Regions from separate parts of the Homo sapiens genome. Here all the other regions are linked to region 2. The links are contacts of gene promoters, found by promoter capture Hi-C in blood cells and fetal thymus (Javierre and others, 2016). All regions are on one chromosome and are shown on one strand. Each heading gives the region's core, a stretch centred on a gene start or on the middle of the fragment in contact. The rest is flanking DNA. Distances are from core to core; before and after follow the strand shown.

Region 1 (4,868 bases), core at 451-2,950, 370 kb before region 2:
ACTCTGGTCTCCTCACAGGGTTATTACAAACGTGAAAATTTGTCAGCAGGCCTGGCAGCCTGAGTTACGGAAATGAAGCTGAGCAAGTGGTGCTATGTCCACGGCGTGCTGGTCTGAGCAGCCAGGCTTCCTGCAGGTGTGGTGAATCAAGCCAGGGAGCCCACAGCTTTCACGTGTAATCATGACTTTTCTGTAAACACCAGACTCCCTGAGAATACCTGCCATGCCCTCCTACCTGAGTCAAGCTCAGTCACTGGCAGTGACCAATGAGGTAGGAGGTCCTCCGGTCCCTCCCTGGAAATGTGTCCACGCCAAGGGTGTGACCTTGCTCTGGGCACGTTTGGCTAAAGTGCAGCTAAGTCAGTCGTTCATTGATTTAACACACATGAGCTTTGGAGTTAGGCAACCTGGTTCAAATTCTGGCTTTGGAATGAGCTGTGTGACCTTGGGTAAAACAGTCAGTGTCTCTGTGCCTGTTTCCTCATCTGGAAAGGCAGAAAATCAGTGTCAATCTCACTGGGTTGTTGTGAAGATTCAACGAGGCAGTGCATAAAGTGTCAGATGTGTAGAAAACACTCCATAAATGTTAGCAATTATGATTATCACACAAGCTTGGCAAGTTTACTGTAGAAACTTTGAAAATACAGATGCATAAAGCTAACATAAAATGTCCATTTCAGTCTCTCCAAAAACCAGCACTATGTTTTGAGTGTATATCCTTTCAGATGTTTTTCTATTCCTGTCGATTTAGGCCTTGTTTTTCTCCCTACAAAAATGGGATTACACAGCACATACTGTTTGGTAACTTGCTATTTTCATGAACTCTATATCATAAGCAGTTTCCAAGCCAGGAAAATCTTTCTACAACAATATAACATGGTGGTTAAAGAGCCCAGGCACTGAAAGCAGACTGCCTGGATTTGAATTCCCAACTCTGTTACTATGTGACCTTAGGCAAGTGCCTTAACTCCTCTGTGCCACAGTGTCCTCATCTGTAATATGGTGCTAGTAATCTCTATCTCATAGGATTGTTGTGAGGATTAAAACAAAATGTATCTGATACTTGGAGTGGCGGCTGCCATAGTTAGTGCTGTGTATAATCATCCTCCATGCCACACTGACTTCCATGGTAAGGATATGTGATAAAGTGTTTGGTCAGTCCTCTCCCAAACTAGCCCTGTTCTAAACACTACAGTGAACATCTTCCATTAACATGGTTCTGGCCTGGTGTGGTGTCTCACGCCTGTAACCCCAGCACTTTGGGAGGCCAAGGCAGGTGGATCACCTAAGGTCAGGAGTTTGAGACCAGCCTGGCTAACATGGCAAAACCCCATTTCTACTAAAAACACAAAAATTATCCAGGCGTGGTGGCGTGTGCCTATAGTCTCAGCTACTCTGGAGGCTGAGGCAGGAGAATCACTTGAACCCAGGAGGCAGAGATTGCAGTGAGCTGAGAATGCACCACTGCACTCCAGCCTGGGTGACAGAGCAAGACTCCATCTCAAAAAAAAAAAAAATAGGTTTCTCTAGGGGATACAGGTACATGTGTTAAGAGGTGGCCATCGAAATGTTTGGACTTTTCTGTGATTCTTACAGGGCAGGAACAAAGCTCAAGACAGCTAGTGGGCTTGCGGGGATTGAACGGGCTGACAGAGGTGGGAATACCATTTCCTTATATGTGAAACAGGGTTTAATGATCTGGCCTCTAGAGCTGTTCTGGGCTCAGCTGAAGCCCAAGTGCAAATCCCTTCATCAGAAAGTCCCAGAAGGAGGGACAAGCCTAAATTCCTCTGTAGGCCTTGGTCTTTTGAATGAGGGCAAATTACTTCCCTTCCTTGTTTCACTCATTTGTAAAATGGCCACTGCTGATCTCTGCTTCCTGACTGGTGAAGGTGTGGGGAGCTGGGGCCTTCTGGCAGGAGGCCCACTTCTGTGCCCTTAGAATCCCAAAGGGCCATTTCAGGACTCAGAGGAAAAAGGCTGGCACTTGGCTGGAGCCAAAAGGGCTTGTGCTAGAGTGGGTCATGGAAAAAAGAGCTGGGTCTGGAGGAGTGAAAGAGGAAGAGTATGGAGATGGGCAGTCCTGCTCTGGCCTCTCCTTGGGTCTTGGCAAGAAGGCCATTCCCATCATCTCACCCCAACTCTACCCATCAATAGCTATATACAGGCACCACAGCTTGCTCAGCTTGTGCTTTGAGCTAGATTGCTCTACCACACCTATTATGTGACCTTGTTTCCTCTCAGCCTCAGTTTTCTCATTTGTAAAATGGAGCTAGCACAATCTGCTTCTAAACATAGAACTAGAAGCACCACCTCCAGAGGAGATCTTGGCACAGGGTGGGCTGGTGACTCAACCAAGGACACTAGTGAGTTGCCATGTGAATTGGGATTGGAACTTAGACCTCCAGACCTTCAGATTGTTTGTCAGCCATCACCCTCAGATTTTCTCTGCCCTTTCTCTGCTTCCACATAGTCCTAGAGCTCAACAGTAACTCTCAGCCACAACCTCCATTGCTCCCAGCCACTCCGCACTTTTGCCACAGCATGAGATGCCCTGTCAGGGTCTATTTAATAGTAGGCTAGACAGTGAGCCTCAGAAAGCTGGCATGTGTCCCCAGTGCCTCTCATCTTTTCTTTGGCTTACTCATCTAACCATCCCACTTAGTCTCTGGCCCAGGTAATCTGGAACACTGCAGTCATGGGGATGAGGGATATTCAAGTCTGGGGTTCCCATGGAGGCTGGAGCCCGGACTTTACCATGTACCTGTTCCTGCGCTCCCCAACGCCTTTAAGCTTCCATTTTGATTTGGTTCCCACCTGTATCTTCCTCAGTGAACCAATCTGCCTTGGCAGCTGAAGGCTTTTTTCTACTGCTCCACACATAGCATTCTGTTCATATCCTTTCTCAATGATGGGCAGGCCTTGGTGAAACTTTGAGCTCACAGAGTTTGTTTTCTTGGCCACCCGGTGCCACTTGATCAATATACTGAAGTAGAATTAAGGCATGAGAAACAAGTATACTGCTAACAGCAGTTACTTTCTGTTACCTACTGCTTGTCTGGCTCTGAAGGCTCATTGTCCTCCAAGCCTTAAAACAAACCTGAGTGGAAACAGACTGTGAGAGATTTAGTAACTTGTCCAAGCTAGTAAGTGGCCAAGCTAGAATTTCAGCCCTACTCTGAAAAAGCAAGTACTTTGGCCATTTTTCTTAACTGTATCTCTGCAGGGTATAGATTTGATCTCCAAGAAGCTTTTTGCCTAAGTGGATGGATAAGCCTTGCCTAAGAAACCACACACCAGAAGCGGCACTGACAGAGATACTGTGTTGGGGCAGAGGCAGGAAGGGGGAAAGATCGGTTGCAGTGGATTTAAGGATAGTGAGAAAAACGGTTTGCTTGCCTGGCGTAGCCTGGAAAAGGAGGGTGGGTCCCCACTGTGACCAGCTCTGGATGCCCTTCGAAACAGAATGGGTTTTCTCTTCCAGGCACTGGGAGATCTTTGAAGGTTTGTGAGCAGAAGAAAGTAACACAGAGTCATGATTGAGGACAACGCATTTGGTGTAAAGTTTCTCCCTGGGGTAGATGTTGATTAAGGGAGGGGTGATTACAGGCCAGAGAGAGTTCTGTGAAACCCAGGACAAAACAAAATGGCATCTACTTCCTGGGAAGTTTTTTTTTTTTTTTTTTTTTTGAGACAAAGTCTCGCTCTCCTGCCTCAGCCTCTCGAGTAGCTGGGACTACAGGTGCCCGCCACCATGCCCAGCTAATTTTTTGTATTTTTAGTAGAGATGGGGTTTCACCATGTTATCCAGGATGGTCTCCGATCTCCTGACCTCGTGATCTACCCGCCTCGGCCTCCCAAAGTGCTGGGATTACAGGCGTGAGCCACCGCGCCCAGCCCTTCCTGGGAAGTTTTAAAAATGCACTGGAAGACTAACTGCCCCATTGTCGTTGAGGGATTACACTGATAAAGCTACTGGATAGGACATTCTGCAATATTTTCAGAAATATTTATAAAAGCTGCATTAAAACATGTAAAAATGCTTATGTTAAAAACAGTATGACTACTATTCTAGTATGACTACTATTCTAGTATGACCACTATTCTATTTAATAGCAATAGTAACATTATCATCCATAGGGGAAAATTGGAAAACAAGCAAATACAATAAAATGTCAACTGTATTTGTGTTAATGTGATGAGACTCATTGGTGTTTTTTCCTTTTCGGCCACTTTCCTACATTTTCCCCAGTTTTCTCTAATGATAAACATTCTTTTTATTTCTCTTAAAAAAAAACACCATGCGGACTTTTCTAAGTGTTACTTTGCCATACGTACGTGGCAGGGGAGTTATAAGGAGTAAATGAGCAAATACACGCAAATTACCCAGCACGGTGCCTGGCATAAAATCGGCGCTCAATGAGTACGAAGCGTGAAGGGTCGCCGGCCCCGCGTCCCCGCCTTGCAGGAGCCCGGACCCGCCGAGCAGGCTCCCGGTCCGGCCCGGCCCGGCCCGGAGGCCGATGCTTCGCGGTAGTGCCCTCGCGGGTCCTGCGGACTCGGCGCCCGCGGGGCCCACAGCGCTGCCCAGCCTGTGGACGTGGAGCCCGGGCCGCACCGCCGCACACGCCCCGGGCATCTCTGCGCTACGTCGCGCGCCCCCACGGCTCCGCCCCGTGGCGTAACCCGGGGCGGGGCCGCCACCTCCGATTGGCCGGCGCGCTGTCACCACGTCGCGGGAAGCTGGCAGGGTGTGTGTCTGTGTGCGTGTGGGGTTTGCTTTGTCATTCGTACCCCCGGTGCGCGCTGACGCGGTCGGCCTGGCCGAGCTCTCCAGCATCCGCAGAAGGGTCCCCGGCGCTGTTCCT
Region 2 (4,995 bases), core at 1,786-4,285:
GCGCGCGTGTGTGTGTGTGTGTAGGAGAGAGAAAGAGAGAGAGACACACACACATCAGGGGTGTGTGTGTGTGTAGGAGAGAGAGAGAGACACCAGGATTCGAGGCAGTGACCCTGCCCCTACTTAAATGTGGCTGCAGGCAGGTCAGGCTCCCTCCTCTTCTCATGGGTGGATGGAGTGGCCTGGAGTGCTTACACCAACACCCTCTGCGCAGGGAGGTGGGTGTGGGTGCCCCCAGGCAGAAGCTGGGACCCAGTAGGGAGTCTGAAGGGTGCTGCAGTGGCTGAATGTCCCTCTCTTCTGATGCCTCCACATTGTCTCAGTGGTAAAGTCCAGGCTTTTCACAAGCTGGCCAGCGTGCCAGCCCAACCTTCCTGCCTCCTCCTCCTCCCTCTTCACACTTCCCCCCCGGGTCCCTCTGCTCAAATCCACTGGACTATATTCTCGAGACGCTACGGATACTCCATCGAGTTTCACATCACTGGGCCTTCACCTCTGCTGTTCCCACCCTCTGGAATGATCTTCCTGGGTGCTATGCCTGGTGAGCTCCTGAAGTCAAGGTCTGGCCAGACCTCTGCTCTGGGAAGCCTCTTCTGAGCCCTCCTGATAGTCAGGGGGACCCTCCTCTGTGCACACCCCTCTCAGAGCACTTACCCCTCGAGAGGAGGGTTGCAGTATCCATTGACTCATCTGGAAGAGCAGAGACTGTTTTGTTTTCTGATGGACACCCAATCGCCAGGACACGGCATAGTAGCCCTTCAATACATGTGTTGGAAGGATGAATGAGCGAGTGCCCACTAACCTCCGAGACCCTCATGGACGTGGCCAGTGCGTCACTCACCTTGCTGTGGTTCCCATTGGCTGCCAGTTCCCAAGTGTCACCCTTGCCCACTGGGAGGCAATAGCAAGGTGCCAAAGAGATCCTGCAGGGCTGCCCCAGCCAGAACCACCCACTAGGCCCTATCTCTCACGGCCTTGCCCTGCCGGGGATCTTGGTTTGGGACAAGCCCTTCTGGGAAGGGCGCCCTCCAGTGGGAAACCAGCCCTGCTCCACTGCCAGTCCCAGAGCTGACACCTCCCAGAGCTGACATCTCCCAGAGCTGGGCCCAAGATTGATCCTTTTCACAGAGGCACACTGATCTGACCTGATTGTCATTAACCCACCCCCACTGTGCGCCTTCCCGAGCTTCTAGAATCATCCCCCAAGTCCCGCAAGCCCCAGAAACCCATTTCTTCAGCACTGGGCAGCAGAGACCAGTGGGGTATCTGTATCTTTAAGAAAAAGCAAGTGTAATAAATAAAAGTTATCTGGGAAAGAAAACTTCCTTTGTTTATTTTCCAGAAGCCTTAGCTCATCAATCTTCCCCTCCTAACCTGCTTTGTGCTCTACTAGTTTTGCTTCCAATAGAATAGAATTTGGTTTTCTAGTATCATGTATCGTACACAGGGTGTCCCCAAACAGTAGCAATAATGAGTTGAAAGTGGCACAGTTGGAAGCCTTCAGAAGCCAACGCCAGATGTCAGGCTCTCAGTGGGTCCCTCTAAGGACACTGGGGCCAGAGCACAGGGCAAGGGTTGGGTGGGCCCACAACTCTGGAAGGTCCCTGGGAGTCATTCATCTGACAGACACTGAGGAGTGCCCACGATGTGCCACGCCCTGTGTGGGCTCTGGGAAGGCCTCACCTGGTGCTGCCATGGCTGGCCACCAAAGAAGAACAGGATGGGCAGTGGAGGCAGGACCCCACCCCCAACTCAGTCGACCGGGTCATCCCGTGGGAAGCCTGGGAGGCAGGATGGCAGGAGATTTGGACCCATAGACCTGGGTGCCAGAGGTCAGGCTTCTTCATTTGAAAACCAGGGAAGCAGTCTCTACCTCACAAGGTGGCTTGAGAACAGAGTGAGAGAATGTGTAAATCACCCCACCTGAAGTCCAGCACATGGGCAGAGCTCAGCATCCTTTGGATCCCTCAGGCCTGACAGGTGCCCCTGCGCTGGGGGGGTTGGTGGGGCTCTGCAAAGGCAGGCACTGCTCACCTCTGGGCTCAGAATTCTTGTCTAGAGGCTTCTGCAGCTGCCACCCTCGCCTGAGAAAATGCAGGTAGAGACATCTAGAGCCACCCCATGGTAACTGGGGGCTTTGAAAGAATGGAAGAGAGCCCCAAGGAACCAAGGTCCTGGGGATTGACAGGCATGAAAATATGTCCTCAACACCACCCACCCCTATTTCCAAGGCCCTCCTCCAAGCATGCCGCATGCTGTTCTCCAGAAAAGCCAGGGCCTCTGGTAGCTCCAGCTGCTGAGGGGCTGGAGCCTCGCCTTCCCCTCACCAGACCAGAGCCCGGAGGGTGGGGGTTGGGGGGCTCTTTTAACTCCTTGGTGGAGATGAGGAAATTTGGGCCCAGGGAAGTGCAGGTTCAGAGCTGCACCTGCTGTGCCTGGAACAAGGCCAATCCCCATAACCCATGCATCTGCGGAGGTGGCCCCCCAACTGCACATGAGGGGAACAGGGGCTGGGCTTTCTTTTTAATTTGTCTTGCTCTAGATGACAGAGGAACTTTTAGAAAACTGGTGGGATAAGGATGGACGGATGCCCCTCAGCAGTCTCTGGCCTCGTGCCCGGCTGCCAGCAGAGGAGGACACGAGGCCTCAGAGGCCCCCGACGCCCCTTCTCCAGGAAAGCACAGGGTGTGTGGCTTCTCCCCAGCCCCTTCTTTGTCCCAGTCCCCAGTCTGGAATCGCTCTCTGGGCTGGGCCAGGCAAGTGGGCCGCAGAGGCCTGGCTTAGCTTTGGGAACGGAAGCACGGGAAGGGGCGCGGAGAGGCAGGAAGCGGCCTGGGGAGGCTGGGGTGGCCGGGACTACGGACCCGACCGCATAGACGCGATCAGCCCCTCTTGGCGTTCCGGTGTAGCTGACCCCGCCCCGGGCTCTGGCCGGGCTGCGAAGCCGGGAACCAGCGACCCCCCGCCCAGCCCCTGCGGCCGCCCCGCCCCTCCCCGCCCCGGCCGCCCCGCCCCCGGCCCCGCCCCGCTCTTTCGCTTCCCGGGCCGCCGGCAGCCGCCGCCAGCCGCAGCCATGGGCCGGGCCCGGCCGGGCCAACGCGGGCCGCCCAGCCCCGGCCCCGCCGCGCAGCCTCCCGCGCCACCGCGCCGCCGCGCCCGTTCCCTGGCGCTGCTCGGAGCCCTGCTGGCCGCCGCCGCTGCCGCCGCCGTCCGGGTCTGCGCCCGCCACGCCGAGGCCCAGGCGGCCGCGCGGCAGGTCCGGGCCCGAGCTGGCTGGGGCGGGAGCGCGGGAGCGGGGACTGAAGGACCCAGCCTCGGCAGCAGGGGGGACATGGGCATGGACGAGTCGGGGGAGGCGGAGGGCGGAGGGGGACTGGACGGGAGGGAGCACGGGAAGGAGGGGACACGGGAGGCGGGTGGGGGGTGCCTGGGGCCGGGCTGATGGGGGGAAGGCGAACGGAGGCCAGTGTGGGGCTGGGACAGACTGGAGGGGTCTCTATCCAGAGGGGTGACCTGGACACAGTGAAGCTGGTTCCCGCAGAGTCTTAAAGGGTTACTGGGGAGCCCTGGGACAGTGAGGAGGGGACACAGGAGAGGACAGAAGGTGCAGGAGGAACAGGGCCAAGCAGCCAGGGCCAGGCGGAAGGCGGAGTGGGGACAAACTGGGAGGGGGCAGTCGGACCAGACAGTGGATGAGCAGGGACCAGGAGGGACTGGAGGCTCTGGGGCAGTTCAGAGGCAACATTTGCACAGATGGACCGGGAGGCACTGGGAGAGCTCAGGAAGATGGTGGGAGAAGGGGCTCCATGCGGAAGCAACTGCCTGTTGGGGACCAGGAGACCAGGCCGCCAAATGGTGCCCAGCCCAGTCTCTCCTCCCAAGCAGGAACTGGCGCTGAAGACCCTGGGGACAGATGGCCTTTTTCTCTTTTCCTCCTTGGACACTGACGGGGATATGTACATCAGCCCTGAGGAGTTCAAACCCATTGCTGAGAAGCTAACAGGTACCAGGAGAGACTGGCGGCTGGGGAGGAGGGCGCCTTGGCCAACGGTGTCTTCACTGAGCAGGAGCGGCCGTCTGGAGTGGAGGGAAGCTCGTGGGATCTCAGAGGCCCTGGACTCCTCCCAGCTCTGACACTTTGTAGCTGGTGGCTTGGGCGAGCTGCTCCAGCAACCCCTGAGCCTGTTTTTCTCAGACTTGTGAGCAATAATACCAGCTAACATTCTTTGGTCTGCGAGGTAGCTCACGCCTGTAATCCCAACACTTTGGGAGATGGAAGGATCGCTTGAGCCCAGGAGTTCAAGACCAGCCTGGTCAACATGGCAAAACCCCATCCCTACAAAAATACAAAAATTAGCCGGGTGTGGTGGTGCACACCTGTAGTCCCAGCTACTTGGGAGGCTGAGGTGGGAGGATCACTAGAGGCCATGAGGCAGAGGTTGCAGTGAGTTGACATCACACCACTGCACTCCAGCCTGGGCGACAGAGTGAGACCCTGTCTCAAAACAAACAAACAAAGCAAAACCAAAAAAACAAAAAAACCATTCCTTGGCCACCTCCTCCGTGCCAGGTATTTAAGTATTTCATGTGGGTTCTCTCTTTAAACCTCACAGTAGCCCTGGGAGATGGACACTGTCATGATCCCCATGTTTAATAGTCTGAGAGACTAAGGCACAGGCAGGCTCCCCAGTTTCCCAAGCTAGAAAGGTGCGGAGCCAGGGCTAGAACTGGGGCCATCTGGCTTCAGGGTCCTGCACCAGCTCACAGGTTTCAGTAGAGAAAAGAAATGCACAGTGACGAATATGCAGTAGATTTCCAATAGACAGCAGCTATAACTTTTTTTTTTTTTTTGAGACAGGGTCTTGTTCTGTCACCCAGACTGGAGTGCAGTGGTGCAGTCACAGCTCACTGCAGCCTCAACTTCCCTGGCTCAATTGATCCTCCTGCCTCAGCCTCCTGAGTAAGTGGGACCACAGGCATGTGCTACCACGCCCA
Region 3 (4,857 bases), core at 974-3,473, 350 kb before region 2:
TTGGGATTACAGATATAAGCCACTGTGCCTGGCCCTCGTTTGTTCTTTGTAATAAAATGTGCATTGCTCTCCACTAGGTCAGTTATGGATTTAATGAGTGAGAATTACGAGGGCTCTATCTTCATCTGGCCAGCAGAACTCTAGTGAAATGAAACTAAAAGGTGGGACTTAGGATTCAAGACTGTGTTCTGGCCAGGCACATACCTGAAATCCCAACACTTTGGGAGGGTGAGACAGGAGGAGCCCAGGAGTTTGAGACCAGCCTGGGTAACATGGTGAGACTCCCATCTCTATTAAAAAAAAAAAAAAAAAAAAGCCAAACATGGTGGCGCATGCCTATATTACCACCTACTTGGGAAGCTGAGGTAGAAGGATCACTTGAGCCCAGTAGATTGAGGCTGCTGTGAGCTATGATCGTGCCATTGCACTCCATCCTGGGAGACAGCTCAAGACCCTGTCTCAAAAAAAAAAAAAAAAGATTGCGTTCTTTTGTGATTTGCTTTGGATTCCTTTATGGCATACCTCTTAGTAGAAACTTATTATCAAACCTAAAGAAGTTCTAAGGATAAATATTAGAAATCGACCCTAGATGACAAATTATGTATCACTGTGAATACTGTATCATTGAGGGTCAAATGTTTCTGTTCTTGACATCTCTTGCCTGAATGGCTTCAAAGGGCACAAAATAAATCCTCAATGCTGGATCCTACTTTTTTTTTCTTTTTTCTTTTTTTCTCTTTTCTTTTTATTATTTTACTTTAAGTTCTTGCTTTTGTTTTTGTTTTTTTCCTCCAAGTATGTAAGTCTTTTGTATCTTATTGGAATATATTTCAAAATTATTTATTAAAAATCTCAATTTTGTTGTTTTTTTAAATGACTAATTTGATCACATCAGTATTGGAATATTTGTATTACAAAATACCGTGCAAGGCTTTATCCCAAATGAAAGTGAATTTTAGGTATTTCCATTTTGTATATTGTGGAAAATATTTTTTAATACCTAAATTTGACCTCCAGAATTGGCAGGATTAGGAGCACAGAAATAGAGGCTTGTTAACAAGTAGAATCTAAAGGATTCTATTGTCCATTATGCAACTAATGAACTGGAAAATTGACCTATAGAGTATATGAAAAATAATATTTTTTTTCTGTGTCCTTGTTTGACCTACTGCAGTGGTTACATATGTGTCCTAACTGGCTTGTCTGAGTGTTTCTGTTTAACACAAGTCCAGAGGGAACTGGGAACACACATTTATATCTCAGCTGGAGCATGGCTTAGATGTTTAAGGAGTTTTTTCTTTAATGTACATTTTTATGCCTTCACAGCCCTTGGTAGTGATTAGCATCTGCTCCCTAAGTTTGTTTCTGTCTATTTGGGGAAGTCATTTGGTTTTTGTTTGGTTAATGCAGATGAATACTATATACAGAGGCAAGAGGAAAAAAGGGGGAAAAAAAGACAGAATTCTTTAAGCATGTAAGGATGTGCGTCAAGAATTTCAAAGACTCTTCAAACAGATGTATAGGGGTGGGGAAACAGCAAATTTGAAGCCTTTCAACTGTGACATTTTCTTCTAATGAAAAACAGCTTGAAAGCTGTAATTTTGAGAGTGTTGCAGTATTTTGAAGTCAGACACTTAGCACATTTTTAAAATAGTGGTGGGATTTAAATGGTTTTTTTCCATCTTAAGTAGAATTAAGCGTTTTTGGTATCATCTTATCTTGATAGTTTTGGGTCTGAGAATGAACACCAGAGCATTTAAAATGCAGATGGGCCACGGCAGCATCTCTTTTTTGTGCTTTATCTCCATTGTTTTCATGATATATGGAGGTATTTTTTTGTCGTTTTAAACAGAAACAGTGAATTTTCTATTTCTAGTTATTCACAAATGACCTTAAATTAATTCTTTATTTTTATATTTTGCAGTACATTTTTATACCTGAAATTCCTGGTGGTGTGGGCACTTGTCCTCCTAGCAGATTTTGTCCTGGAGTTCAGATTTGAATACCTGTGGCCATTCTGGCTTTTCATCAGAAGCGTCTATGATTCCTTCAGATACCAGGGACTGGTATGTCTGGTAATACATGTTTTCCATGTGTGGGGACCATTCAGCTGTTTAGAGTAGATGTTATTAGCAATACTCAGGTAACTATGTTAGGATTAGCTAATAGGGTCTGTTAACTGAAATTGACCTCTAAACTATTTTGTCTAAACCCATTGATCAAATAGTTACATTTTCTCCTCCTCTCCCATTCCAGTGAAACAGAACAGTGGAGGAAGCAATAATTACTCAGGCTTTTGGAGGGCGGCAACCTAGTCTGGGGATGGCATATTCCCTCCTCTTCCATTTCCCATTGCAACCATAAAGGCCGTTCCTACCTTAAAAAAAAAATTGCTCAGTCCTGCTTTGAAGTGTTTCTGGGTTCCCTGTTGCTAGGTTAGTGATTGGATTGGAGTTAGAGTAGTGTTTCAAACGTTTTGGTCTCAGGGCCCCTTTTCACTCGTAAAAACTATTGAGGACTCCAGAGAGCCTTTGTTAATGTGGCTTATATCTATCCAGATTTACTGTATTAGAAATTAAAACTGAGAAAAATTTAAAATACACACTTATTAATGCACTTAAACATCATAATAAGCCCATTACACGTTAATAGAAATTACATTTTTAAGTGAAAAATAGTTATATTTTCTAAAACAAACAGAATATAGAAGAGTGGCTCCATTTTTGTAAATCTCTTTAATATTTGGCTCAATGGAAGACACCTACATTCTCATATCTGCTTCTGAAGTCAGTCTGTTACTGTATCACATGTCATGTAACTTACAGAAAATTCCACCATATGCATGAGTGAGTGTAAAAAAGGCAGATAACATCTTAGTATTGTTATGAAAATAGTTTTAACCTCAAAGAGCCCTTGGAGGGATCTCAAAGACACCCCAGAAATCCCCAAACCACATTTAGACAGCTGCTGGATTGGAGCAAGCATAGGCCTGGGCTTGTTCCCTTGATTAATGTGTTAATTCTGTTGTGTTCTACAGCCACATCTTAAAACTATAACTCCCACCCAGGCCTGGTGCTTTGGTCAGAGCAAATCTATGCTTTAAAAAGATAGTTTCGGCTTATGTTCTATTGGCGGTAGTGGTGTCCAGAGGAAAGCTGCATTATTAAAATTATTATTAGTTTGGTGCAATTACTTTTGCACCAACCTAATAGCATCAGTATATTTCTTACTAATATTATGGTTCATCTGTGCTCCAGACAGCCTGTCTTTTAAGAATGAAGCTCTTTAGGAATGGTTTGTGAGGAGAGAGAAGACTTTTCTGTATTAAAATTCTAGTTTTTTCAGGGCCAGACGTGGTGGTTCACACCTGTAATCCCAGCACTTTGGGAGGCCAAGGCGGGCGGATCACAAGGTCAGGGGATTGAGACCACCCTAGCTAACATGGTGAAACCCTGTCTCTACTAAAGTTACAAAAAATTAGTTGGGTGTAGTGGCAAGTGCCTACAGTTGCAGCTACTCAAGAGGCCGAGGCAGAAGAATCGCTTGAACCCGGGAGGTGGAGGTTGCAGTGAGCCAAGATCGCACCACTGCACTCCAGCCTGGGTGACAGAGCGAGACTCCATCTCAAAAAAGAAAAAAGAAAAAAAAAATTCTAGTTCTTTCAGGTAACCCACATTTATTTGGAATCCAAATGAATTCACTGTGTTCCCACCTCAGCTCATTCTGATCCAGTTCTTTTTCATGATTTGAGGACCATAAAGTACTAGTATTCTTTAATGTTAAAGTAACCGCTACTTTTTATATGGTTGATTTTAAATGTTTAAAATTTCCTTTTGTGAATTTGCTTTACAGTTACCAAGTTATCTCTTAGCAGTTTCAATAATTTTGTCCAACATGTGTTTAACAATGTGTGGTTGAAAATAACAGGTTCTAAGATGTATCTTTTATTTTGTTTTATTTTTCCCTTTAGGCCTTCTCAGTATTTTTTGTTTGTGTAGCATTCACGTCAAATATAATATGCCTGCTGTTCATCCCCATACAGTGGCTTTTTTTTGCTGCTAGCACATATGTATGGGTTCAGTACGTATGGCACACAGGTAAGTCTTAATGATTTCTTAGATGGATAGAAATCTTAGATTCAAATTTTTAAATGTGGTTATTTCTTTGAATACATTATTTAGAGTTGAGTTTAATGTGGACATTTTAAAGTTTTCTTTTCTTAATAGGTTATAATATACCTTCAAAAATATATATCTTTTTTCGTTATTTGAATACAAACTTTAAGCTGTTATGATTTGATATTTTAATTACAGGCATTGCAGGTACCAGCTCTCACTCTGAATATATCTTTTTAAAAAAAAAATAGTTGGACTGATTTCTATGTAGGTATACTTGAAGACAGCCATGTGCCAAAAAAGAAAAAAAAATGTTCATGGAATTTCATCATTGAAAGGAATGTCATTTAGATGAACCCTTAATTTGGCAAAAGAATCCTCACAGCATCCCTGACACGTGGTGGTTTTACCTCTGATGGAAAACCTACAGTGACAAGGAACTTACCTACTGTTCCTGGTACCCTACTCTGTTTTTGGGCAGCTATAAAATAAAGTTATTCCTCATATTAAGCCAGAATTTTCTTCCTTAAATTTTGACCCAGTATGTCTTCACTGTTTTTGGGCTCGTTGATTTCTTTTTTAAAAATTTCTATTTTTTTTTAAGATGGGGTCTCACTATGTTGCCCAGGCTGGACTTGAACTCCTGGGCTCAAATGATCCTCCCACCTCAGCCTCCTAAGTATCTGGACTAAGCCACAGCTTGCTGATTTCTTAGAGGATCTAAAGAGGCTTTCCCAGAAAA
Region 4 (4,721 bases), core at 339-2,838, 460 kb before region 2:
AAAATTCTTATTTACACTTCAGATCCCTCAAGGGATCTGCTATTAGTTTTTTATGATCATATGGTGTCGTAGGCTCTAAAGAGTAATTTTTTATTTTTATTTTTTGAGATAGAGTTTTGCTCTTGTTTTTTTGTTGTTGTTGTTTTTGTTTTTTTTGGTTTTTTTTGAGACGGAGTCTCAGTCTGTCGCCCAGGCTGGCGTGCAGTGGCGCAATCTCAGCTCACTGCAAGCTCCGCTTCCCGGGGTTCACGCCATTCTCCTGCTTCAGCCTCCCGAGTAGCTGGGACTACAGGCGCCCGCCACTGCGCCCGGCTAATTTTTTTGTATTTTAGTAGAGACGGGGTTTCGCCGTGGTCTCGATCTCCTGACCTCGTGATCCGCCTGCCTCGGCCTTGCAAAGTGCTGGAATTACAGGTGTGAGCCACCGCGCCTGGCCTTGCTCTTGTTTTAGTAGAGACGGGGTTTCTCCATGTTGGTCAAGCTGGTCTTGAACTCCCGACCTCAGATGATCTGTCTGCCTCGGCCTCCCAAAGTGTTGGGATTACAGGCATGAGCCACCGCACCAAGCCATTTTTTCTTAAGCTTTAAGATTTATTTATTTTCGAGACAGGGTCTCACTCTGTCTCCCAGGCTGGAGTACAGTGGTGAAATCACTGCTCATTGCAACCTCGACCTCCCGGGCTCAGGTGATCCTCCCACCTCAGCCTCCGGAGTAGCCTGGACCACGGATGAAGGCCACCACACCGGGCTAATTTTTGTTTTTTTTTTTGTTTGTTTTTTTTGTAGAGATGAGGTCTCTCCATGTTGCCCAGGCTGGTCTCCTACTCCTGGGCTCAAGTGATTCACTGGCCTTGGCCTCCCAAGGTCCTGAGATTACAGGCTATTGCACCTGGCCAAAAAGCTTTGAGTTTTTAGTCTATGAAGAAAATATCTTAAATACATTGAGCTGAGGGTAAAAAGAAAGGCATATGTACTCATGCTAGCCATTAAAAATGTTATTAATCGAGTATGGATCTGTCTGTAACCTGATAAAAGTAATTTGACTAGCCTAAAATTGTTACTTTAAAATAATTGCCAGAAGATGTCAGTTGCCAGAGCTAACTGAGTCAGGGTTTGGTGTGGGGATAGGAAAGGAAAGGGGGTTACTTTTAAAATCTTCTAGGCTACTTGTCAGAATTTGGTTAATATAATTTTATTGTAAATATCTGCTCAGATGATAAAAACTGTTTTTGAAGTTTTGGCGTTATTTTGTTATACCTTTGCCCTTGATAATATCTAGAGCCAAATTCAATTAGATAAATTGTAATCTGGTGTTTAAATTAAATTTAAAATCACACCTGAAACCATATTTAGACTGCACTGGAATTCATCAAAAGCAGAACCTCAGAGCTGTTATTTCACACCAAGAAGATAGCTAAAATTCTGTGAACAATAGTTGTTCTCCATATTAATTTGAATGCTTTTTTCTTGATTTTGGGGAATATTTCTCTGGAAGTTTATCATATATCAACAGGACACTTCTGTCAGTTGGAATTGGAGTCACTTTTTTCCTTTCCCCCTCCATGAGATAACTGGTTTCTAGTTCACCAAATTAGATTACAAGGCTTTATTATGATAAAAATTAAATAATGATTGAAGTAGGCTTAGAGAAAAGTTATGTTAATAAATATAAATTGCTCTCAGATTTAAGGGTACCTAATCAGTTATTAGGCCATGTGCAAATTACATGTGGGAAAAAGCTAGAACATTTTTGAAATGTATTAAAAGGGATCTCCTCACTTAAATACCTTGCTTTTAGCCAGTGAGATACAGAATTGCTATGATTTCTCATTGGTATCACCTTTGTTTTAGTTTTTTACAGGCTGGTGGATTATCATAGATGCAGCTGTTATTTATCCCACCATGAAAGATTTCAACCACTCATACCATGCCTGTGGTGTTATAGCAACCATAGCCTTCCTAATGTAAGTGTCATCGTAATTGGCATTACTTACATAGCTTGCCACAAAATAAAAATGTTTCAAATATAGTTGCATAGATTTAAAATTCTAAATATTATCAGATTAACACACTGGACATGATTTAAAAGTCACACAGTAGAGATGGACTTATACAGAAAAGCAGCAGTCCTCTTTATTCTTTTTGTGTACCTCTCCACTCCCTCCCAGCTTCTCTCAGCTATTCTTTTATTTTATACCCCCAGGGTTTATAGCTTTATATTTAAGTCCGAAACTGTGTATTTTGTCTAAGGGATAATTCTTTCAACAATATTTATTAAGCTTTTATATTCCAGACTCTGCTCTAGGTACAGGACATATAGTAGTTAGTAAAACAGGAAAAATCCATGTCTTTTTGTCATTTAAAATAAGTGCAAAGGAGAAAAAATAGAGAAAGGAGATATGTGCAAATAAGTGCAAAGGAGAAAGGGATGTCAATAGGAGGGATAGAAATTAAAAAATTTTTTTTTTTATAGAGAGGGTGTCTCATTATGTTGCTCAGGTTGGTCTCCTGGGCTCAAGTGATCCTCCCACCTCGACCTCCCAAAGTGCCAGGATTACAGGTGTGAGCCACCACACGTGGCCAGAAATTTTCAGCAGAGTCAGAGAAGGTCTCACTAAGAAGGTGACTTTGAGTAAAGACTTGAAGAAAGTGAAGGAGCTGACCAGGGGATGGGGATATATAAGAGAGGTTCATTCCAGGCAGGTGAAACAGCAAGTACAAAGGCTTTACGGCAAGGAGACCAGTATAACTGCAGTAGCAAGATCAAGGGAAAGAGAAATTGATGAGGTCAAAGAAGTGGTGGAGAGGGACAGATGGTATAGGGCCTTGAGAAGCATTATAAGAACTTTACTTTCAGCTGGATGCAGTGACTCATGCCTGTAATTCCAGCACTTTGGGATACCGAGGTGGGTGGATCACTTGAGCTCAGGAATTTGAGACCAGCCTGGGCAACATGGTGAAACCTCATCTCTACCAAAATACAAAAATTGGTAGGGCATGCCTGTGGTCCCAGCTGCTCCGGAGGCTGAGGCGGGAGGATTGCCAGAGCCTGGGAAGTCAAGTCGATGTTACAGTGAGTCATGATTGTGCCACTGCACTTCAGTCTGGGTAACAGAGCAAGACCCCATCACAAAAATAAGAACTTTACTTTCATTGTAAGTGTAATGGAAGCCATTGGAAGGTTTCGAGCAGAGGAATGAAATGACCTTATATTTTAATAGGAGCATTCCTGTTGAAAAATTTTTAAAACCGGTAAACAAAATTTATTGCAGTGCCAAATAGTATAAGCACCATGACTCTGTGCTTCTCAAATTTATCAATGTATTTTGAAAATATTCTTGTATTCTTACCAGTTTCTCAAATTCATAAAATCGTTTAGTTTGCTTCATACTTGGGCTGTGACTTTGTTATTTAGTATTGTTTTTTCCTATAGTTTTTTTTTTCTTCTTTAATTAAGACGAGGTCTCACCTTGTTTGCCAGGCTGGTCTTGAACTCCTGGGCTCAAGCGATCCACCTGCCTTGGCCTCTCAAAGTGCTAGGATTATAGGTGTGAGCCACTGTGCCCGACCTTTCCTAGAGTTTCTGATTGTTTTTTTTTGTTTTTTGTTTTTTGTTTTTTTTTGGTGGTTGTTGGTAGAAAGAATGTATATTTTCTTTAGGATTCATTTTATTCTTCTTGAATGCTGCAGTTCTAATTTGGACAGTTACTATGTGGAATGTAGTAGCCTTGTTCAGTTTTTTGTTTTTCCTAGAGTTTCTAGCTGCCTTTTCTTTGTTTTCTTGCATTTTCTACTATTATCACATCTTTATTTTTTTCCCAAATTCTCAATTATATTCTTTAATGTATTATAACTTCTTTTGTTTTAGAAATCAACATCCCAGAAGCCCGTATCTGTCTGTTTCATTATGAATTAATGACTGTGTAAGCCTGCTGCAGCACTGTCACCATGGGACTTCCCTCCCCTGTTGATCAGGGTTGAATCCACTGTTTTTCCAGTTACCACATCTTCTTTTTTTTTTTTTTTTTTTTGGATACAAGAAGTATTTACTTTGGCCGGGCATGGTGGCTCACGCCTGTAATCCCAACACTTTGGGAGGCCAAGGCGGGCAGACCACCTGAGGTGAGGAATTTGAGACCAGCCTGGCCAACGTGGTGAAACCCCATCTCTACTAAAAATAATTTAAAAAGGCTGGGCGCAATGGCTCACGCCTGTAATCCCAGCACTTTGGGAGGCCGAGGCAGGCAGATCACGAAGTCAGGAGATCGAGACCATCCTGGCTAACACAGTGAAACCCTGTCTCTACTAAAAATACAAAACATTAGCCGGCTATAGTGGCACGTGACTGTGGTCCCAGCTACTCGGGAGGCTGAGGCAGGAGAATCGCTTGAACCCAGGAGGCGGAGGTTGCAGTGAGCAGAGATCATGCCACTACACTCCAGCCTGGGCGACAGAGTGAGACTCTGTCTCAAAAACTAAAAAATAAATTAGCCAGGCACGGTGTTGCGTGCCTGTAGTCCCAGCTACTCGGGAGCCTGAGGCACAAGAATCACTTGAACCTGGGCAGCAGAGGTTGCTGTGAGCCGAGATCACACCACTGCACTCCAGCCTGGGCGACAGAGGGAGACTCCGTCTCAATAAATTTAAAAGAAAAAAGTATTTATTTTAGTTTGTTTATTTATTTATTTTTTTTTTTGAGATGGAGTTTTGCTCTGTCGCCC
Region 5 (4,755 bases), core at 2,127-4,626, 310 kb before region 2:
TTAGAAGAAGCCACTGCTGCCCGGGCTGTTGCGTTTGCTGCTGCATCTAGGTATGTCCATGTCACCTGAGTGTTTAATCCAAGGTTGGCTTTCCTTTACCAACAAAGACATGGGAATTTGGTGCCTTGGGCAGGATTGGACGTACAGCAATCATGCACGGATGGATTGCTTTTAAGTACTGTTTTATTAACTGGTTTAAACTCCATGTGTGCAAGCTTGCACTATCTTATAACAGCTTTATCCCTCAGTGACCTCATCTATAAAGTGGGATGAGGGAATCACCATGTTTCCCATACCTGGGAGGCAAAGTACTGCTCATAAAAAGGTTTCCAGTCACTTTTTGTCAGACTGATGATTACTAAATGCATTGAGAGATTCTATCTGGAAGTTCGTTCCCTTTAGAGAGCTATCATTACTCTCCACTCTTAGGTATATGTGTTTCTGAAGTTTTTATCTTAAAATGGAAGAAAGATAAAATCTTGGTTGCCCAAGCACTGTGTACTGGCTGCTCAAATGGATATCAGCAAACTGTCAAATGAAATGGAAAAAAAAAGTGAAACATAAGTCTCTACTAGATGGAATTACATTTATGGCATAATGAAAATTGGGGACTACCTCCTATACCACTGGAAAGTACCCCTGTGTGCAAGTATTCCAAAAACTATTAGATAGTTAAGAGCTTTTTTTTTCTTTTTGCTTCTACTTCACTTATCACTTTTTCCTTTGTTTTCTTGACTAGTGAAGTCCCTCTGCATGTGGGAATCAGTTAGGTGTTTGCAGATATAGAGCGAGGGTAAATTATTATTTATTTCACTTTTAAATTCCATCCTAATTTGTATCTACGTGGTATAATTCAACTGTAATTTTTCCTTGAATTTTGCTTTGTCGTAATTAAAGTTAAGTAATTTAACTTTTGGCATGTTGATAGCCTTCTTTGTGGGTTCTGGCATTTGCAGAATAATTGGTGAATCATTTCACCTTTTAGGAAATAACAGCAAGTGAGAACTCTCTCCTGTGTGATCCTGCCTCCCCCCAGCAGATGGCTGAGCTGGCTTGGCCCATCAGCATCTATACAGACTTACAAGGCCCTTGACTAGCCTGCCTACAATGTGGGATTGTTTGTTTGTTTGAAGATGTATTTGCATTCTGAAGCACTTAAACTTGCAGGAGATGTTCTTGAACAGTCATCTAGTGATGACTGCTCTCCTCTCTCCTCAATTCATACAGCACCTGCCCTTTCTGAAAAATTCCACTCAGGAGGACATAGCAGTTCCTTAACGATATTGCTTAGTGTCTCCCATGCCTGAGAATCAGTAAGTTGATTTCAGTGTCTACCCCAAATCCCTTTTGCTTCCAGTTAAGCTTATTTATCTTATCCCTGGATAGTCCTTGTTTTTCATAACTTATTCTTTTTTTCCTTCTTTTTGAGACGGAGTCTAACTCTGTCACCCAGGCTGGAGTGCAGTGGCGCGATCTCAGCTCACTGCAGCCTTTGCCACCCAGGTTCAAGCGATTCTCCTGCCTCAGCCTCCCAAGTAGCTGGGATTACAGGCTCCTGCCACCGTGCCCAGCAACTTTTTGTATTTTTAGTAGAGACGAGGTTTCACCATCTTGGCAGGCTGGTCTCGAACTCCTGACCTCAGGTGATCTGCCCACCTTGACCTCCCAAAGTGCTGGGATTACAGGCGTGAGCCACCACACCAGGCCTGCCATAATTTATTCAGTAAATCTCAGGGCATAAATCTCTGACTGGACCTTCCGTTTTGGTAGGCAGAGAACACCTACTTTCTTCATTGGGCTGTTTCTGGAACCTAGACAGTACCAGCTTTGGACTGGCCATTGCCATCATCTCTTTTAGCTCAACCTTATGATAGCCCTGAGAAGCAGCTCAACAGTGTGCCCTTATTTTTCTGTTTACTCCAGTCTTGTGGCAACTTTATGACAAGAAAGACAAAAGTCCCAATGCGTAGCCCCTCAAAAGTGGGGGGAAAATTTTTTTCTAGTTCACCGCCCCCTGCTGGACATAGTACATGTTCAGTTCTATCTGGCTTTGTGTGTATTGTCTCAAGTCTCATGGCCTGGTGGGAAGTTTGCTGGATTGGGAAGCCAGAAAATCTCAGTTCTTATCCCTATTCTAAGACCTAAAAGCTAGGTAACCTTGAACTAGTATTTTATCTATGTAGCCTCAGTTTTCTTATCTGGAAAATGGGATAAATATACCCTAGGTTGTTATAAGGATTGAAGAAGGTAGTATGGGTAAAGTACCTTAGTGTCTGGCTCATCTAGACACTCAGTAATAATTATTGTATATATGTATGTATTTTGAGACAGGATATCATTCTGTCACCCAGACTGGAGTGCAATGGTGCAGTCATAGCTTACTATAACCTGAAACTCCTGGGCTCAAGTTGTCCTCTTGCCTCAGCCTCCTGAGTAGCTGGGACTACAGGCATGTGCTACTATGCCCAGCTATTTTTTAAATTTTTTGTAGAGACAGGGTCTCTCTGTGTTGCCCAGGCTGATCTCAGACTCTGGGCTCAAGCAGTCCTCCCACCTTGGCCTTGGGAGTGCTGGGATTACGGGCATGAGCCACCATGCCCAGCCCAGTTATTTTAGAGTATTATTGAAATTATCAAAGGACACAGAGAACTGAGCAGACTGAGCCAAAAGCTAAAACCTGACAGACCCTGGAGTATAAAAGAAATTAAAAGAAATATAAATCCCACAATACAAGTAAACCTATAGTCTTTTTTTTTTCTTTTTTTTGAGACAGAGTCTCACTTTGTCACCCAGGCTAACGTGCTGTGACACCATCTCAGCTCAGTGCAGCCTCTGCCTCCCAGGTACAAGCAATTCTCCTGCCTCGGCCTCCCGAGTAGCTGGGATTACAGATGTGTGCCACTACACCCAGCTAATTTTTGTAGAGAGAGGGTTTCACTGTGTTGGCCAGGCTGGTCTTGAACTCCTGACCTCAAGTGATCCACCTGCCTTGGCCTCCCAAATTGCTGTGATTACAGGCGTGAGCCACTGCACTCGGCCAACCTATAGTCTTTTTTAAAATTTTATTTATTTATTTATTTATTTGTTTTTGAGATGGAGTCTCACTCGGACGCCCAAGCTGGAGTGCAGTGGCACGATCTGGACTCGCTGCAACCTCCACCTCCTGGGTTCAAGCAATTCTTCTGCCTCAGCCTCCCCAGTAGCTGGGACTACAGGCATGTACCACCATGCCCAGCCAATTTTTTTTGTATTTTTAGTAGAGACGGGGTTTCACCATGCTGGTCAGGTTGGTCTCGAACCCCTGACCTCAAATAATCTGCCTGCCTCGGCCTCCCAAAGTGCTGGGATTACAGGCCTGAGTCACAGGGCCCAGCCCCAACCTATAGTCTTTTAAATCACTTTATTTCCTTCTCTTCTTTTTCAAAAGGGGAGAATGCACCGAAACCTTACGGAATCGGATCAGAGAACTAGAAGCAGAGGGCAAGAAGCTCACGATGGACATGAAGGTGAAAGAAGACCAAATCAGAGAACTAGAACTAAAAGTCCAGGTAAGGGGGGAACAAAAGACTTCCCTTGTATTTGAATTCCACTTTTATGCTAAACTTGTGCTCTGTGTTGCAGTGTAGAGATGATGCCTTTTAATATAGATCAAATCTCATTGCATCTGAAAAATCTCTATGTGACAAAAAGATTTGAAGTTCTAATCTTGTCCAGCTCATTTCAAGTCATATTAATGTAGCCAGATTCTAATACAAACCAGAAATGTTGACAATCCCTTGGTATGTTTTATACCAGGATTTAACTTGCTGTAGATTCATTTAACTTTTTCAGGTTATAGGCCAGATTAGTGTCCTTTGAAACTTACACACCTCCTTTTAGCCCCAACCCTCTTTCTATTGCCAGGGGACTGACCCTCCTGCATGGCTCTGAGCCTTGCAGATTGTTGTTCATAGCAGTGAATGATAGGAAAGGTGCTAGTGCTATGGACGTAGCCTGTTTTATGGGCTGTGTATACTTTAGCCAAATATTTGTCATTTAAACTAATGTCATATATTGTAAAGTTACAGTAATTTGAGCCAGGTGGGACAAGTGAAAAATTACTGTCAAGTCAGTGGACTAGAATGATGGCCTGGAGTACAGTACCGAAAAAAATACGAAAAAAAGTAAAGGTGGCATCAGAGATAGATGGGAAAGGTAACGATTAGTCAGTAAAAGGCTTTGGAATAGCTAAATAACTGGAGAAAAAAAATTAGAAACTCATCTCATGCCACATATAAAGAAATTCCAGATGAAGAGTTGAAGGCAGAAAAAACAAAGAATAAATGAGTTTTTAAAAACTAGGTGGAAATATACTTGACCTTGAAACAAGGGAAAGATTTTCTAAACATACAAGCAATGGGAAAAAATCACAAAGCAAAAATCATAATAATAAATGAAAAAATTGATTGGGGAAGGTATGAATATTGCAACAAATATTATAAATAAGGAATTAATATTCTCAACATATCCGTAGCTCATAAAAGTTGCTAAGGAAAGCTCATATATATAGCAAAATAGGCTGAGGATGTGAACAAATAATTCAGAGGAAATACAGGTGACTGATAAGATCATAAAAATATAAACTCACCAATCATCAAAGACATGCAGATTAAAAGTAGATATCATTTTTCTCCTATGAAATTAGCAGATGATTTTTAAATGAGAATATCAATCATGGTGAGGATGCAACAAAATAGGCCTCATACATTGCTGGTA
Region 6 (4,840 bases), core at 1,764-4,263, 330 kb before region 2:
CAGGCGTGAGCCACCACACCTGGCTGAGAAGTGTTTAACTTATACTCATATTCAAGTACTAATTTAAATTAACAAATCTGAATCTAGAGAAATATTTTTAGAGCATATATATTGATAACAACATAATCTATAAATAAGCTATGTAATGTTCTAGTCATCAGTGAGTATGTTGATTAGTATTGTGTTGTCTGTGATACGAGTTTTTGTGACTCATTCCTTTCTGGTTTAAGTTGGTGAGTGAGCAAAGTGTCATTGCCCTTCATTGTACTTTCTAGCCCACTTAAACCTTGTATTTATGTTTTATGATTTTAAAACATGAATCTGCCCTTTTTTCCTTAAAAGGGCAGATGAAGATAGCAAATGTTAAAAACGATCAGCTTTCCTCTGTGACTAGACTTTCCTGATGGCACACATTGCTCAAATGTGGCTTGACTAGGAATTCACAGACTTTCATACTTCTGAATTTAACCTTGTCTTCCAGCTACCAGCATTTAATACTGCTGTGTAACCTCTGACTTTTTTTTTTTTTTTTTTTTTGAGACAGAGTCCTGCTCTGTCACCCAGGCCGTAGTGCAGTGGTCCGATCTCGGCTCACTGCAACCTCTGTCTTCTGGGTTCAAGTGATTCTCCTGCCTCAGCCTCCCGAGTAGCTGGGACTACAGGCGTGCGCCACCATGCCTGGCTAATTTTTGTAGAGACGGGGTTTCACCGTATTGGCCAGGCTGGTCTCGAACTCCTGACTTTGTGATCCACCCGCCTCAGCTTCCCAAAGTGCTGGGATTACAGGCATGAGCCACCGCGCCCGGCCAACCTCTGACTTTTATAAGACTCCTTGGTGTATTTGGTCTTGCAGTTTAGGAAAAAACTAAAGTAGATGTTTTAGGGTACTTATTTTTTGTTTCTCCACATTATAAGATGTCTACACCCAATTTAAAATTACACATTTGTTGAATAGAAAGGACTATATTTTTAGATACTGATTTTTCATAATCAGTGGATTCAATATGATTTGGTGTGAATAACTATAAAACAGAGCAAAGTGAAGAGAGAATCCAAGATGTCCCTATTTTGTGATCTTAGAGAAACATTTCAAAGCCACTAGCAAATTTGGGGGCTAATGCTATTTACTATCTATCTTTCTATCATTCTTTATCTCTTGTAGGGAACTGGCCTGGGTCAGGGTTAGGAGTGGTTGAGGCTGGCTCCTAGCTCCAGGGCAAGAGAGAAAGTTGCAACAGAAGGTGGAGAAGAAGATTCAGAGCATGTAGCCCAAGGTTGTTAATAGGCATGAAGCAAGAATAGAATCCAAAGCTGGGACCTGACCATTGGGTTGAAGCAAGACAGAGCGGTCAGTTTAGGAGACAGAGCCTGTGAGCATTCCCTGGACTGGTAACCCAGGGGCAGGTGGCCTTTCATGGAGGATTCCATCCTTCTCCCAAGGCCCTGATGAGTCCTTAGTGGGGAACCACAGTAGTTAAGTGGGAAAGATAACAAACAATTATCTTGAAAGGTGCAAGCCCATCTTAAGGTAATTAAAGGAACCCAAGATTGTCTGCTAAAGTGGGGTGGGGAGGGGGCAGGTAGCAAAACAGATTGTATAGTATGAATCCATGGAAAAATATGGGTAGGGGCCGGGCTCAGTGGTTCACACCTGTAATCCCACACTTTGGGAGGCTGAGGCAGGTGGATCAGTTGAGGTCAGGAGTTTGAGACCAGCCTGGCCAACATGGCGAAACCCCATCTCTACTAAAAATATAAAAATTAGCTGGGCGTGGTGGCATGTGCCTGTAGTCCCAGCTACTCAGGAGGCTGAGGCACGAGAATCACTTGAACCTGGGAGTCAGAGGTTGCAGTGAGCCAGGGTCGCACCTCTGCACTCCAGCCTGGGCCACAGAGTGAGAACCTGTCTTTAAAAAAAATTAAAAATATATATGGGTAGGGCCGGGTACGGTGGCTCACACCTGTAATCCCAGCACTTTGGGAGGTCAAAGCAGGTGGATCACATAAGGCCAGGAGTTCGAGACCAGCCTTGCCAACATGGCAAAACTCTGTCTCTACTAAAAATACAAAAATTAGCTGAGTGCAGTGGCGGGTGCCTGTAATCCCAGCTACTCAAGAGGCTGAGGCATGCAACTCACTTGAACCTGAGAGGCAGAGATTGCAGTGAGCAGAGATCGTGCCACTGCACTCCAGCCTGGGCGACAGAGCAAGACTCTGTCTCAACAAAAAAAAAAAAAAGAAAGAAAGAAAAATATGGGTAGATATATTTCTCATGTGCACAGAAAATTACTTGAAATATATACCAGATGGTCAATTGTAGTTGGCTGCCAGAGACATTTACTTTCTGCATTGTTTATTTCTGCATAGTTTAAGTTTTTATAACATGCTTATTATACCATAATAGAATGTAAGCTCAGTAAGGACAGGGAACTTATTTTCACTGGTTTGTCACAGTACACAGTGCTTGGCTAGCACAGAGTAGATACTCAGTAAATACTTGTTGAATTAATAAATGCTACCTTTGTGCAGGGAAAATACTAGGAAGCAGGGAGGGTGGCACCCAGTAATTTTATCACAGTGCAACTCAAAGGCTTTTGAAGTTAGAAAACCTGAATATCACATTAGACCCAATCGAGGACTGCACATCCAGTGTCAAACTCTTTGTTATTTTTGAGGTTATTAATAATTTTATTTCTAAATAGAAAGTCTCTTTGCTCCAAACCCCTTTTCTTGGTATTTCACAGAAAGTTTTAAAATCCAGCACTCCGTCAGTAGTTTTTCCCAAGGCTTTGAAAGAGGTGTAAGAATTTCTGGAAGTTACAAGGGAAAAGAGGAGAAAAGTCCTCTGAGACACTGTTGTCAAAAAAGGCATTTGCTCTGGCAGTGGGGTTGGTTGTGCTTCAGGGCCAAGGAATCTAGACAGAAGCCTCATCTCAGCCAGGAACAGGGAAGATAATCTCAGTTTGCCTTGTCTTATTCATCTTTTCTGGTGGGTCTAGCCCTCTCTCTCCTCGCCAGTCCCAGATCATTCTTTGTCTTTGTGGTAGCTGGAAATACAGCTCAGATCCCACATTAAAAAAATATATATATTATACTTTGAGTTCTGGGATACATGTGCATGAGTTCTGGGATACATGTGCAGAATGTGCAGGTTTGTTACACAGGTACATACATGCCATAGTGGTTTGCTGCACCCATCAACCCGTCATCTACATTAGGTATTTCTCCTAATGCTATCCCGCCCCTAGCCCCCCACCCCTCAACAGGCCCCGGTGTGTGATGTTCCCCTCCCTGTGTTCATGCGTTCTCATTGTTCATCTCCCACTTATGAGTGAGAACATGCGGTGTTTGGTTTTCTCTTCCTGTGTTAGTTTGCTGAGAATGATGGTTTCCAGCTTCATCCATGTTTCTGTTCCAACCTTCTCTCCAAGGAGATCCTCCAGGTTAGAATATGTGTTTGGCTGCTTTCTCTCTAATGCTACAGAGAGAATGTTAAATTTGTTTGTTCTCTTCTGCTTTGAATGCATTTTGCTTGTGTCAGGAGTAGTTTGCGGAAGAAAATCTGATCTTGGTAGACAGTGATTCAGGCTTTGGGGGTTCCCCTAGCTGCTTTCCCTACAGGTGGCTACACAACAGGGTGCTGACAGATTGCTGCAGAGTCACCTGCTTGACCCCTCCCTGAGTGATGGCGACCACAGCCGGCCTTTCTACTTCTGTGAGGCATAAAATAATTTTTCGGAACAGCATTATTCTAGCTGAGATATAAAATTATAATAAAAATGTATGAAATTTTAGAATGGGAACTGTGAAAACTAGACACTTAGATGTTCTAGCTAGACTAAATTGAATATGTTGGCTATAGCTGCTGCTGAATTATTTGGAAATTATCAAGTGGGAAAAAATAAGTAGTAGAGACATCTGTCTAGTAAGTTTAGTGTGTTTTCTGTCTCTGTGGAAACATGTTTTTGATTTATGTTTTTCTAGCACTATGTCTGAGCAGATATACTTTGTCGGACCTGATTAATTTTCATTTTCTGCTATAACCATAATATTTTCTATACCTATAGTTTGACTCTGTTTATATTAATATACAATATAGTTTGAGTTTATTTTAACCATTGCAGGAATTTAAAACTATCGTATTCTGGGATATAAATGTGGTAATAGAGGCATGATTTTATACTTAAACAGGGTTTTTTGTGGCTTGAAAAACGTGGCATTTTAGAAACTAGGCATAAGTGAATTTAAGCAAACAGTTTACCGAATGTCTCCATATCTAAGAGGCCAAACAGGAAGGTGATTATGGTGTATGGATAAATTATGAAGTAACATGTAGGTTATTGGGGAGGGGGCTTCTACATAAACATGAAAAAAAAAATTTTTATGTTGAGTCCCGAGAGTTCATTCTATCAAAACTGATTTCTAGATAGGCTGTTTGAAAGTTTACTCCCTAGAATTGAGAAGGAACTATTACAAAACTTTGAAAGGCTTTGTGTTAAATTCTGAGTCAGTACCTCTGTTGGCATATAATGAATTTAGTTTTTCATCTAAGGGGGTTAGGGGTGGATTCCCTGAAGGGAAGGTAACCCCAAGGAAAAGGAACCATATTCTTTAAATATTATTCATGCTATCATTTAGAAACTGGCTATTTGGATACTTTGCCAGCCAATGTGGGTATATTTCATCTTTGCAAATCTCTTGGGTACCTCTTAGATCTTTAAAACCAACTTTCAGTTTCTTTTTTATAGGTAGAATGACAACTCTCCTCTATCACAAGGTACATTTCACTTTTCTTGTTAGAGTGTTCCAATAGATTCAAAACAGAAACACAAATTAATGA

What was found. The method cuts DNA at HindIII sites, captures the fragments that hold promoters and counts their contacts. A CHiCAGO score of 5 or more calls a contact.
Region 1: a fragment that was not itself captured here is called in contact with the fragment with the promoter of SELENON in region 2 in 6 of 17 cell types (fetal thymus, M0 macrophages, endothelial precursors and 3 more); the score reaches 6.8 in fetal thymus.
Region 3: a fragment that was not itself captured here is called in contact with the fragment with the promoter of SELENON in region 2 in 6 of 17 cell types (total CD4 T cells, total CD8 T cells, naive CD4 T cells and 3 more); the score reaches 7.0 in total CD4 T cells.
Region 4: a contact is called between a fragment that was not itself captured here and the fragment with the promoter of SELENON in region 2, in 2 of 17 cell types (activated CD4 T cells and M0 macrophages). The highest score is 5.4, in activated CD4 T cells.
Region 5: a contact is called between a fragment that was not itself captured here and the fragment with the promoter of SELENON in region 2, in 11 of 17 cell types (naive CD4 T cells, total CD4 T cells, total CD8 T cells and 8 more). The highest score is 13.1, in naive CD4 T cells.
Region 6: a fragment that was not itself captured here is called in contact with the fragment with the promoter of SELENON in region 2 in 7 of 17 cell types (naive CD4 T cells, total CD4 T cells, non-activated CD4 T cells and 4 more); the score reaches 8.8 in naive CD4 T cells.

What each region holds. Positions count from the first base shown.
Region 1 is chr1:25,425,554-25,430,421 of GRCh38, forward strand. It overlaps a transcript of RHCE not described here. Among named protein-coding and RNA genes, the nearest start is that of MACO1, 2.9 kb to the right of the region's middle. RefSeq lists a silencer at 4,370-4,809. The HindIII fragment of the contact is 2,182 bases long and covers 610-2,791 here.
Region 2 is chr1:25,797,158-25,802,152 of GRCh38, forward strand. It overlaps SELENON (selenoprotein N), which reads left to right and starts at 3,036. Exons shown (of 12, transcript NM_206926.2): 1 at 3,036-3,256; 2 at 3,886-4,003. The coding sequence starts at 3,074. RefSeq lists an enhancer at 2,230-2,951 and a silencer at 2,761-2,900. The HindIII fragment of the contact is 6,547 bases long and covers 1-4,995 here.
Region 3 is chr1:25,444,838-25,449,694 of GRCh38, forward strand. MACO1 (macoilin 1) reads left to right here. Exons shown (of 11, transcript NM_018202.6): 2 at 1,925-2,066; 3 at 3,971-4,097. Among named protein-coding and RNA genes, the nearest start is that of MACO1, 16 kb to the left of the region's middle. RefSeq lists an enhancer at 2,801-3,040. The HindIII fragment of the contact is 8,507 bases long and covers 1-4,857 here.
Region 4 is chr1:25,341,110-25,345,830 of GRCh38, forward strand. It overlaps TMEM50A (transmembrane protein 50A), which reads left to right. Exons shown (of 7, transcript NM_014313.4): 3 at 1,852-1,964. Among named protein-coding and RNA genes, the nearest start is that of TMEM50A, 5.1 kb to the left of the region's middle. RefSeq lists a silencer at 2,775-2,975. The HindIII fragment of the contact is 1,378 bases long and covers 900-2,277 here.
Region 5 is chr1:25,485,746-25,490,500 of GRCh38, forward strand. It overlaps MACO1 (macoilin 1), which reads left to right. Exons shown (of 11, transcript NM_018202.6): 8 at 1-50; 9 at 3,428-3,548. Among named protein-coding and RNA genes, the nearest start is that of LDLRAP1, 55 kb to the right of the region's middle. The HindIII fragment of the contact is 4,032 bases long and covers 1,361-4,755 here.
Region 6 is chr1:25,469,118-25,473,957 of GRCh38, forward strand. The region is part of intron 6 of MACO1 (macoilin 1); the gene reads left to right. Among named protein-coding and RNA genes, the nearest start is that of MACO1, 41 kb to the left of the region's middle. The HindIII fragment of the contact is 7,817 bases long and covers 1-4,840 here.